3 separate regions of the Homo sapiens genome follow, and all the other regions are linked to region 3. Evidence: promoter capture Hi-C in 16 types of primary human blood cells and fetal thymus (Javierre and others, 2016). All regions are on one chromosome and are shown on one strand. The core of a region is centred on a gene start or on the middle of the fragment in contact, and the rest is flanking DNA. Distances in the headings are between cores, read along the strand shown. Region 1 has its middle 20 kb from the start of NKX2-8. Region 2 overlaps SLC25A21 (solute carrier family 25 member 21). Region 3 holds the start of LINC00609 (long intergenic non-protein coding RNA 609).

Region 1 (2,740 bases), core at 55-2,554, 530 kb before region 3:
CCCATGACAGGGCCCGGTGTGTGATGGTCCTCACCATGTGTCCAAGAGTTCTCATTGTTCAATGCCCACCTATGAGTGAGAACATGTGGTGTTTGGTTTTCTGTCCTTGTGATAGTTTGCTCAAAATGATGGTTTCCAGCTTCATCCATGTCCCTACAAAGGACGTGAACTCATTCTTTTTTATGGCTGCATAGTATTCCATGGTGTATATGTGCCACATTTTCTTAATCCAGTCTATCATTGTTGGACATTTGGGTTGGTTCCAAGTCTTTGCTATTGTGAACAGTGCTACAATAAACATACATGTGCATGTGTCTTTATAGCAGCATGATTTATAATCCTTTGGGTATATACCCAGTAATGGGATGGCTGGGTCAAATGATATTTCTAGTTCTAGATCCTTGAGGAATCACCACACTGTCTTCCACAATGGTTGAACTAGTTTACAGTTCCACCAACAGTGTAAAAGTGTTCCTATTTCTCCACATCCTCTCCAGCACCTGTTGTTTCCTGACTTTTTAATGATTGCCATTCTAACTGGTGTGAGATGGTATCCCATTGTGGTTTTGATTTGCATTTCTCTGATGGCCAGTGATGATGAGCATTTTTTCATGTGTGTGTTGGCTGCATAAATGTCTTCTTTTGAGAAGTGCCTGTTCATATCCTTTGCCTACTTTTTGATGGGGTTGTTTGATTTTTTCTTGTAAATCTGTTTAAGTTCTTTGTAGATTCTGTATATTAGCCTTTTGTCAGATGGGTAGATTGCAAAAATTTTCTCCCATTCTGTAGGTTGCCTGTTCACTCTGATGGTAGTTTCTTTTGCTGTGCAGAAGCTCTTTAGTTTAATTAGATCCCATTTCTCAATTTTGGCTTTTGTTGCCATTGCTTTTGGTGTTTTGGACATGAAGTACTGTTTCTTAATAAAGACAACCACGCCATCTCCCAGCCCCTGCTCTCCCCTCCTTTTTCCCTCACAGGAACCTGACCCCATAGCACCTAGGGACACGTGACTAGAAAGGCAATATGGAATGGAAGGGATGTGAATACTGTAGTCATTTCCAGTATTTTTTCTCCCTTCTTTCTCCCACTCTAAATTTTTAAAATGTGATCTTAAATTTCATAATATACAAACAGATTCTTATTACAGAAATTCAAATTATATAGAGGACATTATAGCCCCTTTCAACCTTCCCCATCCAACATTCCCCCCAAATAGGATTGTGCTGTACATTATTTTGAAATGTGCTTTCATGATGTAATGTCATGCTTTAGGAATTTTCCCACATGAGTAGTTAAGTTTACTTCATTCTTTTGAACTGCTGCAAAGCAGTCTTTTCTCTAGGATACCAATTGTTAAAAAATTATACACACAATTTCGCATACTACTTTTTACATTTCATAGTGTGTCATGAACATTTTCCCATCTCATTATACGTTCTTCATAAAACATGGTTTTTAATGATTACATAGTATTCCAGCATATAATTATACCAAAATCAATAATTAATTTAATAATTCTCCAACTTCTGCATTTTTAGATTGTCTCCATTTTTTTTTTTTTCTCGAGACAGGGTCTCACTTTATCGCTCAGGCTGGAATGCAATGGTGCAATCACAGCTCACTGCGGCCTCAATCTCCCTGGGCTCAGGTGATCCTCCCACCTTAGCCTCCCAAGTAGCTGGGACCATAGGCACACACCACCACACCTGGCTAATTTTTGTATTTTTTTTTAATAGAGTCGTGGTTTTGCCATATTGCTTGAACTCCTGGGCTCAAGCAATCCGCCTGCCTCGGCCTCCCAAAGTGTCTCCAGTTTTTGATAATCATTCCTTCTCAATAATGAGCTCAATGTCTCCTTACACTTGCCTTCCCACTACTCCCTTACTTAGGGATTGTAACCAACCAAAAAACTGAGGTCCCTGAAAAGTGGCTGATGGCGACAAGATTATTCTGTAGTTTCTGTGCTCCCTTCAGGCATGAATTGCTGTATTTATGACTGTGAATGGGTGTTGAATTTTAACTTCTTAAACTTCTGCTGAAACTCCACTCTCCTCACTTAAATAACTGAAGCAAAATGAAGGTATCTTTCCCAAACTGTTTACTTTGAGCAGGTGAGCATTTTCACAATTAGAAGGGAAGTTTGCAATCAGTTTCTTTAATGGGAAAGGTGCTCTTATAGAATTAATACATGCATGGCTCAGGGGAAGTAAGAATCTCTGCAATTGATTGGCTTAAAGGGGCTCCTTAAAATCAGAAATACTTGGGCACTCATCGCCTCTGCTGGGTGATTGACAGGGGTCTTCAAACCATCCTCCTTTGTGGGAGGTATTTGGCACAGAATCATGATTTCAGAGCCTTCTGGATTAGAATCAATTAAATCCATAAATAGAAATGAGCTGCCATTATTGTCCCTAAAAGGATACACCAATACCTCCACCCAGCATGTTCCTGTATCACGCCAGAGTTTACAAACAGGCCTGCTGCACCTGAAGGGACACAGCTAAATGCAATTCTGGGAATAATTGTTACAGGAAGGCATGTGCTGAGTTTTAAGTGAAACATAAACTTGAATTTCCTTTTTGTCCCTCTAAAAATACAAGGCGAGCCAAAGATGTAGCCTCTGCTCTTGATGACATTTTAATCAAACATCACTGCACTACAACACTTCTAGCACTAAACTAGAAGCCTTTACAGGCAAAATAAAGTGCTACAGTAACTAAAACTAGCTGCAAATTATAAT
Region 2 (2,700 bases), core at 51-2,550, 870 kb before region 3:
TTATTTCATGTAGCATAATGTCCTCAACGTTTATTCATGTTAGCATGTGTCAGAATGTCCTTCCTTTTTAAGGCTAAATAATATTCCATTTGTATGGATATACTTTATTTTGTTTTTCCATTCATCTGTCGATGAACACGGGTTGCTTCTACCTCTTGCCTCTCATGAATAGCGCTGCTGTGAATGTGGGGGTACAAATATCTCTTCAAGTCTCTGCTTTCAGTTCTTTGGGGTATATGCCCAGAAGTGGATTTTCTGGATTATATGGTTAAAATTTGTCTTACACAGGCTAAAAATGAGATGTCTCACTTGGGCACATGGTATCAACTTGTATTTCTGCCTCCATTTGTAGCAATATTCTTTACTTTTATGTCTCAGTTTCTTCATTAAGTGAAGATAACATACCTTATTTCTCAGTAGTTTGAAAGGATTATGGGGACATTTTGCTGATGGACTGGGTAACCACTTCTTCTTATCCTCACAGGTAGTCCTGAAGAACTAAAAATAATAATAATCTGAGTCAGGGGAAAGAGGTTTTTGGTTTGTTTCGGTTTTGGCTTTTGGTTGTCCTGAGAAGACTGACTAGGATGAACACTCCTAGAAAAAGGAAGAAATCAACATGATTTGGCATGTTCTCAGCAACTGTACCAGCAGTGTTATGAAAAGGTCAAAATGATGATAAACCATCATATATTTCAGTTTGAAAATTAGAATTGATTCACACAACAAAAATAAACTGTGATGGGATGAGTCAGCTTCAGGCAGTGGACCTAGCTTTAGGGCATCTCATCTTGGGTCAGTGTTTGTTTGGCTTTTGAGGTAAGGCTCATTCTACTCAATAAAATGAGAGAAGATGGGACAAACTGTGAGAAAGGGAAAAATGTGAAATTTATCTTTGTTAAGGAGGCACATATGAATTCTGTGGCTTAGAAATGCTTTACAAATGTTCATGAGTTTTCTTGTGTATTGAATAGGACATTCGTAGTCACTTGTTTATGCTTACACTGGAGCCGGCCCTTGGAGCCCCACCCTTCAGGGAGAAGACTGTGGAACAGATGTCGCTCTCCACAGCCTGTGTGGATGAGGGAGAGAGGAGATCCTCTCACTATCTGTGATGTTTCCTCCCCCAGCATGGTTTACTAAGTGTTAGTCATCTCTCAAGGCCCAGCTGCCTCCTTCAGAAAGCCTTCCTTGATACCCTATGCCCTCCACCCGCAACCTGCCAACTCCTACCGCAAGCTGAAGGCAGTTTTCTTCCTCTGGACTCCCATAACAATTTCTCAAAGCCCACTGGGACAATCACTTTTGTCTGCTACTTGTCCACATGTCTTTCCTCCCCTATTAATGGCAGGCTATGGGTTTGTCCTTGCCCGACAGTATGCTGGGCTAGGGTCCCAGGTGTCGACAGGATTCAGGATATGACCTTGACAACTGGCCAGAGGCACCTGCATTTACCTCTGGTCACTCTTCAGTACAGAGGCCAACACGGGAGCATGGCTCTGTGATGTAAATGGAGAAGGATTAGAGCAGAATTTTTATATGTATGAATTTGGGATTTCAGAGGGAATTGGGTATCCTTTTCTTGGAGTGAATTAGGCCCAATCTGTTGCCTTTTATCTCCTCTAATAAATTTAGTGGTGATAATTTTATATTTAATATAAACATCTTTTACTATGTATTTTTTCAATTAATTAATTAAACTTGTTACAGGGAAATATGTTACTAGGAGGTTTCTTAGCCAGCTTTTTAAACAAAGGCTTCTTGCTAACTGGAAGGCCCAGTTAGGTGGTATAAGACTCATACCCTGTTCTTATTTCCAAGCCTTGGCGAAACCTTCCTGACCTGACTTTGCAGTGCTCTCTCAGGTTTGGTACTGTGTAAGCTACAAAGAGCCAAGTGGAACTGTCACTGGGTTACCTGGCATTTCCCCAGACTTTCACAAGGACCGATTTACCAGGGGCAGTTCATCTTGGTCTTACATATAGCAGCAGGGCAGGGACTCAGAGGGACAGAAGCAGCCCTCCAATAGTGTGAATACTTAGAATAGTTCATTTGTGTGCTCTGAAATAAACCCCTACATGTCTAAGACATGATACAAAACAAGCCTAGGGCCAGGTGCGGTGACTTATGCCTGTAATCCCAGCACTTTTGGGAGGCCAAGGCGGGCAGATCACATGAGGCCAGGAGCTCAAGACCAGCCTGGCCAACATGGTGAAAGGGTGTCTTTACTAAAAATACAAAAATTAGCCGGGTGTGGTGGAGCGTGCCTGTAATTCTAGCTAGTCGGGAGGCTGAGGCAGGAGAATCACTTGAACCCGGGAGGCAGAGAGCTGCAGTGAGTTGAGATTGCACCACTGCACTTCAGCCTGGGTGACAGAGTGAGACTCAGTCTTAAACACAGGGACAGTGACTAAAATCTATCTCCCTATGTAGGAAAATATAATAGAATTCTTTCTTCAGCAAATCATAGAGTCTCACAATTGGGAAGACTATAGAGTTCACTTGGTGGACTTGACTGATGTGTGACTCTCTCTGGCATGTAGTAGTAATTCCGCCTTTGCTCAGATTTGCGTTTCTGACTCATTGCCTTCTAAGGCAGAAGCAGCTCTCTACTGGAACCATACCTTCCCCAGTCCCAAAAGATGGGGGTGGACTAGGGGAGGGGCTCAAATCTAAATTTACCCTCCTACTAAAAAGTGC
Region 3 (2,700 bases), core at 15-2,514:
CCCCCCAACACATCTCTAATGCCGCCTTGTGACTAGTGGATTAAGTGAGCACTTTGAAAATATGTATTACTTGAGTGATTAAATTGCCAAGCTTCCCCATTTCATTTACATCTTATTTCCATTTCTAGTGAATCATTCCTTCTAAGCACAAGGTTGTGAAAGGAAATCTTGAACACTAATAATAGCATTACAAGCTACTATAACCAGGGCTTACTTACATGATTATCACCAAAGCTCCAATAAATTTCTCAATTTAAATATTAAAAATCAGTCAATGATCTGTTAGCTGGAAAATATCTGGGGTGAAAGAGTGATTACCACTAAAAAATAGATTGAAGTCATTGCTGCTTTTAGAGCCTAGAAAAATACAAAGATCTGTTATTCTAGGTAAGTTACTTACTCTCTCTGCCTCCTTTATGGGCTGCTGGAAGGATTAAATGATTAGTGTGTGAGAAATGCTTAGAACAATGCCTGGCTCAAAGTAAGTAATCAATAAATGCCAGTTCTTATTATCACAGGTATTCTGAATACAGGTTGTGGCGATCAGGAGCTTTGATGACCATGGCAGGTGGCAATGCCCCAAAGTGCAGAAGACGTCAATTCCTCTTCCATATCCCCAGTCAACACACACATTCCCCTCCACAACCAAGAGAAGTGGGCATTAAAGAAAGGAAGGGCAAGAGGAACGACAATTCTAAAAGATCACCAAGGTGTATAGTCTGAATTATTTGGACTAGTTCTGCTGTGATCTTAGCCAATTGACCCTCTGCCCTAATTTCCCCACCTGAAAAAAAAGAAGGCCAATTTATTAAGGGTTTCTGATGCGTGGGTGAAAGAGGCTGTTAACACTCGAAAGTATTATAGATTAACAATCTTTCTAACCATTTTAAATATTAGCAAATGTTCCAGCTCACAAAGTGCCATGGTTTTAGTGGCCTGGAAAACGCTGCAATTTGTTCAAACATCAGTGGGTGTTATTTCTGGATGTTAATCAGTACCATTTACCTTGAGAACCTGGAAAATGTGTGGACTGTGCAAGTCCGCCATCTGCTGGTCCTGGAGACTCTGCGCCGCAGGGCAGAGATGCTTGTCCAATGCGGCCGGCACAGGAGCTCCTTGGAGAGCAGCAAACCAGCCAAAGCTGTTCCCACCACCTCAGGTCCTGATGCTGAATTATCACAGTGAACATGTTGCTTTCCCAAAGGGAGGTGATTTGTTTGAGAGGGTATGTGTGTGGTCTTTAAATAGTTTTGTTCTTTGTGCTTACATTATCATCTAGGAAGAAAAGATAATTTATTGCATCTCAGAAATGAAGCGACTCTGAGATAGCATCTATTTCAAATGCCTCATTTTACACAAAAGAAAAAATGTGGCCCAAGAGTCAGACAACTTTCCCAAGTTACTCAGCCAGTAGTGGCAGGACAGTATCCCCAAGGCTCATGCCTGGACACTTACTCTCGCTACCTTGGAGAAGGTGAAGGAGGGCAGAGGAATCTGCCAAAACAAAGAAAACTTCCCAGCCAGTGTCCTGGGTCACTGTATACGTCTTACTGACATGGCACTTTAGCCATAGTTTGCAAAGAGCTTTAACTTCTCTTCTTATATCCATATAAAAACTTTCACCTCTGATTGTAGCCAAAAGCCAAAGCCCTTTTATGCCCTATTGCACTTATGAAAGGGGAAAAATGCAAGTAAGGATACTTTATCTTGTGATTATTTTCACTTCCTGAAAAGCCAAAGATCTAGCAGTTTAATCACAAAGTCTGTCCTGTCATTCAGCAGCAGATGCCAGCCTCTTGCCCGGCAGCCACCAGAATAGAAGAACCCTACAGGTCAGAAAGTCTACACTCTTATTTCTCCACCAGAGAGAGGTCTCTCTTAGTTTATACAGGCCAACTATTTTTTTTTAATTGGTCTTAGTCCAATAATGACATATTTGCCTGGGTCACCTGCCAGCCAACCAGGAGCGCTCATTCAGCTGGGGTGTGGATACAGAGAAATTCTAGTGCCATCCAACAGAGGGCAGTAGTGCACAGACACATAACCACCCTGCTCAGCTCTCTCCTATCAGAAAAAAGGGGGTGGGGGACACAGGTGCATATTCTTACTGCTCTGACTCTGTCCTGAGAGTGGAGCCAAACATTTTTCAGATGCCAAAATCAATCTTAAAAGTCAATGATCTGACAAGGACAAATATTAATCGCTAATTCCTGTTTCCCCCCACTTCATGACGCTCAGCTTCATACTCTGCCCCTGAGCCTCCCAAACCAAAGTTCTTTTATCACGTGACAGAGACACAAGCCTTGGATCCATCTGAAAACAAAGCTGACAAGTTTCTCACCACCTAGCAACACAAAAAACTCTAAACACAATCCAAAGAATCCCCAAGGGAAACAGCTTCAAGAATCTTGAAAATCATACCTATTTTTGTTTGTAATGTGTGAAATTATTACAAGTATGTTCACCAAGAGGACTATTGATGGATGACTCACAATTTAGCTAAATTCAATGAACCACACACTGTGCCTATCCCAGTAGGTGACTCATGCATTTTTTATTTCAAGTATCAAGTGTTTGCCAAAAACAGTATTTAAAAAAAGTAATGAAAATTGTTCTGAAAGAGCTCATGAATAGGGTAGGACTACCCACCGACAACCTCATTTGTGCTCTGACCACTTACATGGGATTTGGTGGGTCTGC

What was found. Contacts are between HindIII fragments. The CHiCAGO score rates a contact against its expected background, and 5 or more counts as called.
Region 1: a fragment that was not itself captured here is called in contact with the fragment with the promoter of LINC00609 in region 3 in 5 of 17 cell types (endothelial precursors, M2 macrophages, M0 macrophages and 2 more); the score reaches 9.9 in endothelial precursors.
Region 2: a contact is called between a fragment that was not itself captured here and the fragment with the promoter of LINC00609 in region 3, in 1 of 17 cell types (M2 macrophages). The highest score is 7.4, in M2 macrophages.

Annotation. Positions count from the first base shown.
Region 1 is chr14:36,601,399-36,604,138 of GRCh38, reverse strand. No RefSeq gene overlaps it. Among named protein-coding and RNA genes, the nearest start is that of NKX2-8, 20 kb to the right of the region's middle. The HindIII fragment of the contact is 3,992 bases long and covers 1-2,740 here.
Region 2 is chr14:36,942,902-36,945,601 of GRCh38, reverse strand. The region is part of intron 1 of SLC25A21 (solute carrier family 25 member 21); the gene reads left to right. Among named protein-coding and RNA genes, the nearest start is that of MIR4503, 8.1 kb to the left of the region's middle. The HindIII fragment of the contact is 3,902 bases long and covers 1-2,700 here.
Region 3 is chr14:36,068,991-36,071,690 of GRCh38, reverse strand. It overlaps LINC00609 (long intergenic non-protein coding RNA 609), which reads right to left and starts at 1,264. Exons shown (of 3, transcript NR_073454.1): 1 at 1,006-1,264. The HindIII fragment of the contact is 3,305 bases long and covers 94-2,700 here.